3 separate regions of the Homo sapiens genome follow, and regions 2 and 3 are each linked to region 1. Evidence: promoter capture Hi-C in 16 types of primary human blood cells and fetal thymus (Javierre and others, 2016). All regions are on one chromosome and are shown on one strand. The core of a region is centred on a gene start or on the middle of the fragment in contact, and the rest is flanking DNA. Distances in the headings are between cores, read along the strand shown.

The links. The method cuts DNA at HindIII sites, captures the fragments that hold promoters and counts their contacts. A CHiCAGO score of 5 or more calls a contact.
Region 2: a contact is called between a fragment that was not itself captured here and the fragment with the promoter of SPO11 in region 1, in 2 of 17 cell types (M1 macrophages and M0 macrophages). The highest score is 6.3, in M1 macrophages.
Region 3: a contact is called between a fragment that was not itself captured here and the fragment with the promoter of SPO11 in region 1, in 1 of 17 cell types (endothelial precursors). The highest score is 5.2, in endothelial precursors.

Annotation. Positions count from the first base shown.
Region 1 is chr20:57,328,533-57,331,072 of GRCh38, reverse strand. It overlaps SPO11 (SPO11 initiator of meiotic double strand breaks), which reads right to left and starts at 1,270. Exons shown (of 13, transcript NM_012444.3): 1 at 1,075-1,270. The coding sequence starts at 1,205. LOC105372687 (a long non-coding RNA gene) reads left to right here and starts at 1,409. Exons shown (of 12, transcript XR_007067670.1): 1 at 1,409-1,652. It also overlaps the pseudogene RPL39P39. The HindIII fragment of the contact is 5,253 bases long and covers 1-2,540 here.
Region 2 is chr20:57,111,868-57,114,407 of GRCh38, reverse strand. No RefSeq gene overlaps it. Among named protein-coding and RNA genes, the nearest start is that of BMP7-AS1, 100 kb to the left of the region's middle. The HindIII fragment of the contact is 6,810 bases long and covers 1-2,540 here.
Region 3 is chr20:57,136,421-57,138,960 of GRCh38, reverse strand. No RefSeq gene overlaps it. Among named protein-coding and RNA genes, the nearest start is that of BMP7-AS1, 76 kb to the left of the region's middle. The HindIII fragment of the contact is 298 bases long and covers 1,122-1,419 here.

The sequences.
Region 1 (2,540 bases), core at 21-2,520:
CACTCTAGAAAACGGGCAAAATGTTGAGAGTTTTAATTTCCACAGGAACTTCAGAATTTTTACTGAAAACTTGTGTTTCAGAAAATGAATTTTAAAACATTTAATCTATTCTAATATTGGGAGGTAAAAACTGACCCAAATACTCATTTTTCCTAGTTTGGAGAAAAAAAGTGTTGCAGGATAATACTGTAACCAACTTTAAGATACAATCAGATTCGTCTACATCTGCGATATTAACAAGGGACTTGCCACTCTCCTTTTCCCTCACTCTCCCAAGTTCTCCCTCAAAATAAATTCTTTTGTAAAAATTGGTTTGTTTGTAGGTTTTTCAGATTTTTTGGTGGTTGGTTTGGGCTTAAAAATAAAAGGCTGAAAAACTTTGCTCAACCAAGAAAGCAAGTCGAGGAAACAAAATAAAGTATTTTTAAGTGAAAATGGTCAATAACGTAGTCATGTTTTCTGTGGTTAATTCTAACATGGATAGCTGGAGGGTTCCTGTAATTGATTTTAAATAAATCATTTAAAATATGTACATTCTCTCCACTTGCAAAACAATTAAACATGTTGTCTTATTATAAACCACTTAAAATGTGTTGATGTCCTTGTTAATTCTGAGAAAACCATTCGCTTACTGAGAGAAGACATACAACACTCATTTTCTTTCTAAAAAAAAACCAAAAAATAAAAACCAAAAAAAACCCTTAAAGTTTAACCAAAAATTTTATCCCAAAAAACGTTTAAAAAATACAAAGCTAACTGTACCCCAAACTCCCCAACCTATAAGGATCTTAGGAAACCTTCCAACCCAGCTGCAGGGAGCCTCTGGAACGTTCTAGAAGGGGAACATCCTAGAAGCCACAGAAGGGGGGCTGCCACCTGGCTTTCTTTTTTGAGTTCAAAATAAGGGTTCAAAGCAGGTCACGGGTACTCAGGAAGGATCTTTTTGGGGGTTCCTGGCTGGCCCGCCAAGGGGTGCCTCCTCAGCCTCAACACTAGGAGGCAGCCCGGGGCCAGGAAGAGCGCCCGACTTTTCTACAGAGTGGCTGCGTCGCGCCTCGGCACCAGCTCCTGTACCTGGAGGCCAGGCGGCTTCCCCCAGTTGGGGGCTCCCTGCCACCTCTCCTCAGGGCAGCCAGCAGGGACTCCCTGTGTCGGTCCAAAACGTCGAAGAACGAGGCCTCGGGCCCCATAGGTGCAAAGGCCATGAGGGCAGACGGCTGCCAGAAGCTCCAGAAGCCCCTGTCCTAGGCTGCGCCCTTGGGGCGTGGCTGCGTGCCTTTCCCGCGCTTTCTGAGCGGCCGGCGTGCCCACGCCACACACCCAGAGGCGGGGCTGGACAGGCGTATGCGTAGAGCACGGCGTGGAGTGCGCAAGCGCAGGGCTCTCAGGCGCGGTCCCACCTGTGAGGCCCTGAGGCGGGCGCCTCCCTGAGTGTGGGTCGCGCAGGCATCGGCCCTGCGTGGCTGAGCTGAGAGATGTTTGTGTGGCGTGCTGCGGATATTGGACCTAGAGTCCCTTGAGGTGATTTAATTATTTTGGGGGTTGGCTATTTAGGGACAGCAATATCAGCGATTTTTCATTAAAACACATAATGATGAAGATCCAGCTGTGTGGGATAACAGTTCTCGGCAATGGGTTCAGCTGTGATTGAGGTGAACGCAATCCCTGTCCTTACTAACGTTTCATAGCAGTTGAATGCCTCCAAAGCCCTTTGCACTCAGGTCCCTCTTCTAATTCCCTTAAGAACCCCAGGAAGTTCCTAACGTGTCATCCTAATTTTGCAGGTGCCAGGAAAGGTCAGCTCAGAGCAGGCAGGCCTGGGTTAAAATCCCAGCCCTCGCACTCCGTAGGGCAGACCAATTTGGCAAAGAAAATCCAGGACAACCAGTTAAATTAGAATTTCAGATAAACAGCAAATCCTTTTTTTTTTTTAGAGTAACTACGTCTCGTATAAAGTTTGGGATATACTTTTACTAAAAAGTTATTTTGTAGCCTTGCACAGTGGTACTCACCCGTAGTCCCAGCTACTAGGGAGGCTGAGGCAGGAGGATGGATTTAGAGGCTCCAGGAGTTGAAGGCTGCTGTGCGCTAGGATTGTGCCTGTGAATAGCCACTGTACTCCAGGCTGGGCAACACAGGGCGATCCCTTCTCAAAAAAAAAAAAATAGTTCTTTTTTTTTTTAAGTGAAAGGTCTCACATATTTATTACTGAACCCAGCCAACCAACGCATTCATCACAGATTCAGAGAGAAAAAATATATTCTCAATAAAACATGTACAACTCTCCAGAGAGCGGTGACATTTTCAGCTTGATGTGGTAACATGACTGTGACCTTCAGACAGCATAAATATGTGTGCCCTCTCATGTGCAATTCCTTATAGGCCCAGCTCGGTTCTTCTTCAATGTCTCCTTTTGGAGTTGTACCTGATTTTATTATCAGTTTTCATCCGAATCCACTGGGGACGATTTTGCTTTTGTTTCTTGGCCAGGAATTGCTTAATCCCAAAAGTCTTGTGGGAAAGACATGGCGAGAAGTGGA
Region 2 (2,540 bases), core at 25-2,524, 220 kb after region 1:
GTCAGATGCTAACTCAGTTTGCAGCCAGGCTGATCCTTGCCTTTCAGTGGGTCCTGTGGAGCCACACGTCACCACCATCACCACCACCACCAGTGCCACCACTACCACCATCAACAGCAACCACATAAACATCACCAGGACCACCACCCACAATACAAACAACACTACCACAAACACTAACATCACAAATACCACCACCACCATCAACACCACCAATACTGCCAGGGCCACCCCCATCAACACCACCAATACTGCCAGGGCCACCCCTAGCAATACAAACAACAATACCACAGACGCTAACATCACAAATACCACTACCGACACCAACACTGCTGGTACTGCAAGGGCCACCAGCATCAACACCACCAGTACTGCCAGGGCCACCACCAACACCAACACCAGTACTGCCAGGGCCACCAGCAGCAATACAAACAACAATACCACAAACAGTAACATCACAAGTACCACCACCACCACCAACACCGCCGGTACTGCCAGGGCCACCACCACCAAAAACACCACCATCATGTGTAACTAAAATAAGATTCTATGCCTCCCACTGACTGAATGGATCCTCCTCTTGGCCGAGGACTTTCCAAAGTCAACCCAAAAAATTAGTTTAGGCCATGATGGGCAGGGGGGTCAGACATGCCTCATGAAACCCTTTGGAGTGCAGGCACAGCTGACCAGCATTGACATTAAACCAGAGAGACCTTGAGACTGACAAAACAGGCTCTTTGTAGCGATAAGATACCAAATTCCAACCTGACTCTAGCATAGCATCACATGACAGATAGCAGGCCCTGAAAGAAATCAAAGTATTTTCCCCCAAAATAGATTTCTTTGACATATTTTGAAGTGGCCCTGAAAAGCTGTCTCTTGTGGAGAAGACATAAGAGATGGAGATGGAGATGGAGATGGAGATGGAGACAGTCTACATTCTGCAGAGAATCTTCTTCCCTTTCTAGGTCTTTTCACTGATTCCAGAGAGAATTGACTAGAGGTCTGGCACCTTTTTAGATCTGATAGGGGACATTTACCAACTACTCTCTCTGAAGCCTGCTACCTGGAGCTTCATCTGCAGAGTAAGAGCCTTGGTCCCCACAACCCCTTATCTTAACCCAGACACTCCTTTCTGTTGATTCCAGGTCTCTAGATAGTAACTGAAATCTTTCAACCAATTGCCAATCAGAAAATCTTTGAATGCACCTATGTCCTGGAAGCCTCCCTACCACTTCGAGTTGTCCCACCTTTCCAGACCAATCCAATGTACGCCTTACATGTATTGATAGATGTCTGCCTGTACCTTCTGTCCCCCTCAAATGTACAAAATCAAGCTGTAACCCAACCACCTTGGGCACATGTTCTCAGGACCTCCTGGGGCTGTGTCACAGGCCTTGGTCACTCATACTTGGCTCAGAATAAATCTCCTTAAATATTTTTCAGACTTTGACTTTTTTCATCGACAGTCATCACACTAACCATCACCACCACCACCACCAGTACCAACGGCCATCAGAGCAACAATGCAGCTACAGTGGATAGAGCCTCTACTGCATCCTGGATACAAAGGACTTTTCATGTCTAAATTCCTTTGATTGTCTTTATTTTAAAGACGAGGAAACAGCAGAGGAGATCAGGAACTTGCCCAAGATCATTTAGCAGTGCTAGTGCAGCCGGCGTTCAAGCCCCGGGTTGTCTCTTTAGGAAGGAAAGAGACCTTCACTGCAGAAACCTTGGCCGGCCGTCTTCCTCTTTCGAGGACCATTTACAGGCCACTGAGAGGAGACAAGCTGGCTGAGGAAATGGGCCCAGCTCCCTCTTAACCCCTCACGTGGGCTGCATTCATGGAGGTATGGTGTGGGGAACAAGGGAGGACATGGTGCTGCTGGAGTCCTCATGGCTCATACCACACCTGGAACATGGTGGCCATGCCTTGGCACCAAGGCTTATGGCACCAGTGGGCCAAAGTGGACCCAGAAATGGGCATGACAGTTTTCCTTGGCCTAGTCCCCTGGCTCAGTGAATGATTCCTCAGGCATCCTCGAGGACCACAGAGTTATCCTTGCCTCCTTTCCCTCACCCCTCACAGTGAAGCAATGGCTCCTGGACCCTTGCATCTCAGATATGCCCAAGCTGTAGCCATCCACCTCCAAGCCAGCGCAGCCAGCCTGGTTCTGGTCCCAATCGTCTCTCTCCTGATTACTCCACAGTCTCCTCTCTGGCCTCTTTCTTTCTGGATTTTCCAGATGGGCTTTCTAAAATGGAAATGTGCCCCCATCATGCCCCTGCACAAACCCTCTGGTGGCCCTGAGATAACATTCATCGCATGGCCTGAGGTTGCTGGAGGTCTGGCCATCCGTCTGCCCCTGCAGCCTGGGCCTGCCCCTCCCCGCATCCCCTGCTCCCTGCTGCTTGAACATCCCTGAAGATGTCATGCTGTTTTGCTTCCAGGAATTTCCACACACTATCTCTCTGTAAGGAGCATGGACCAGACTAAATAATAATTGATTGGGCATTTACTATGTACCAAGTGTGAT
Region 3 (2,540 bases), core at 21-2,520, 190 kb after region 1:
AAAAAAAAAAAAAAGAGTTGGGCCTGAAACGAAGTCACACCTGTGAAGCATTTGCACAGCCCCTGGCATGGAAGAAGTGCCAGCTGAACTTAGCTCCCGGGAAATAAAAGTGAAGACGTGCACAGTTCTAAAGCGTGCCGTGTACCCCAAGCCTGAAAGCTCCGCTCCAAGAAGCCGGCAGTCCGTCCTGGGCCTGGGAAGCTGAACAGAAGCCCTCTCCATGAACTCTTCCAATCCTAGTTTACGTGGCACTCGAGGACTCAAAGGAAATTAAGGCCAAACAGGGAAATTGCAGGGGAAGTAACTGCAGTAAAGGAGAATGATATGAAACAGTGGTGAGTCCTCTTTCTTCATGAAGACCGACTCAGGAAAAATAAAAATCTTATGTGTGGCATTCTTTTTCCCATTTAATAATGAAAGTCGTTAAAGTGTGTCCCATAGAAAATATATAATCTTACAACATAGACTACATACTGTTTTGAATAACAGTGCAGGCTCCGAAGCCAGACTGCCTGGGGTCAAATCCTGCCTCTGAAGCAGAGGCTGTGGCGCTTCAGGCAAATGGCTTAACCTCTCTGTGCCTCAGTTTCCTCATCTGTACCTACCTCATGGGGTGGTTGTGAGAATTTCATGCAAAGTTGTTGGGCTGGTGTCTGGCACAGCAAGAGGGCTCCATAAATGCTAGTGTGTATTAGAGATATTATTATACAACAACTATTCCTGAGAAAACATTTCCTATTTTTTTCAGCCACGAAAATGTTAATTTCTGAGCAAATGTCACGAGCACAACAGGGAGACAGCTTTCCTTTGTTGTTGATGTCGCTGTTGTTGTTGTTTTAGAGACAGAGTCTCACTATGTTGCCCAGACTGGTCTCAAACTCCTGGCCTCAAGGATCCTCCTGCCTTGGCTTCCCAAAGTGGTGGGATTATAGGTGTAATCCACTGTGTCCAGCCAGGAGACAGATTTCTGATCCTTCAGTCTGAGATTTGACTTTGTGAATGAAATGGGTCATGGTGATTATAGACCAGGTTTTCTCAATTTGGGCACTATTGACATTTGGGGCTGAATGCTTCTTTGTCTGGCGGGGGGGAGGGCAGTGTCCTGGGTATTATAGGAAGCTTTTAGCAGGATCCCTGGTCTCTATCCACCACCTGCCTCCCCACCCCTCAACTGTGACATCAAAAATGTCTCCAGATATTGCCAAATGTCCCCTGGAAACAAAATATGCATTGGTTGAGAACCACTGCTATAGAAAGACCAATGGAAAAAAGGAGACAGTTATTACATTTTATTATATTTTCTCTGTTTCTAGAGCAGTTTTGAGAAATACTACATTGGCGTGAGTTTTCAAAGATCACATTTTAGAGTGACAGATGATGTCTCAGTTTGAGGGAGTGAAAAGACTTTTGAACTAAGCTTAAAATCCAGGCTGGGCATTGTGGCTCACGCCTGTAATCCCAGCACTTTGGGAGGCCAAGGCTGGTGGATCACTGAGGTCAGGAGTTCGAGACCAGCCTGGCCAATATGGTGAAACCCCTTCTCTACTAAAAATACAAAAATTAGCCAAGTGTGGGGGCATGCACCTGTAATCCCAGCTACTTGGGAGGCTGACGCAGGAGAATGGCTTGAACCTGGGAGGCAGAGGTTGCAGTGAGCTGAGAGTGCACCCCTGCACTCCAGCCTGGGCAGCAGAGTGAGACTCTGTCTCAAAAAATAAAATAAATAAAATAACATAAAATAAAATCCAGTGTTTTTGCCCTGGCCCCGCATGGGTGTATGTGTAACTTGAGGCACATACTTGGTGCCACTCTCCGTCTCCACTCTGTCATCTGTCACCTGGAGACAATCGCAGCAGATCAAATGGCTTCTCCAGAACTTGTGGCCGTCAGCTGAGCCAGTGTTCCCCAAACTTCACTCACCTTCACAATTTTTACCTTCACCAACCAAATGACTGTATTATTCTTTAACATTTTATTTAAATCAACCGTACCCCTTTTTTCTCATTTAAATACTTACTTTAGCCCCGACTTAAGCAATTGTCTTTGTCATGTGTGATATGCTTGCTATGTTTTTAAAATACGTTTAAACATAAATAAATAAAATAAAAATGTTTGTTGGTGTCTCGCCTAAAATCATCTCACGTGCTACCAGGAATGTTCAGAACACCCTTTGTGAAACACCAAAATAAACTCTTACAGGGGAAAATCCTTTGCAATGTAAAAAAAAATTATAGATGCTAGACATGACTTTGATTCACTTGAACCAATACTTGGTAACAGAATTGATGTTCAACTCTCACTGAACATCGCAAGGAGACCAGTTGCTTCTTGTTCTGCTTTCCTGTGGTTCATTCCTCCTCCACTTCCGTCACTTGAATGTGGAGAGGTGACGGGCCTTCTGTGCTTGGTAGGAAGCTGTCTGGTGGCCTAGAAACTCATTTCCCACACTGGAGAGCTGAGCTGGTTTTGATACCCCCCTCTGATGGACCCTGGTTCTCTCCAGAAAACCTCCCATTTGTTTGGGTGGGCATGGCAAATTT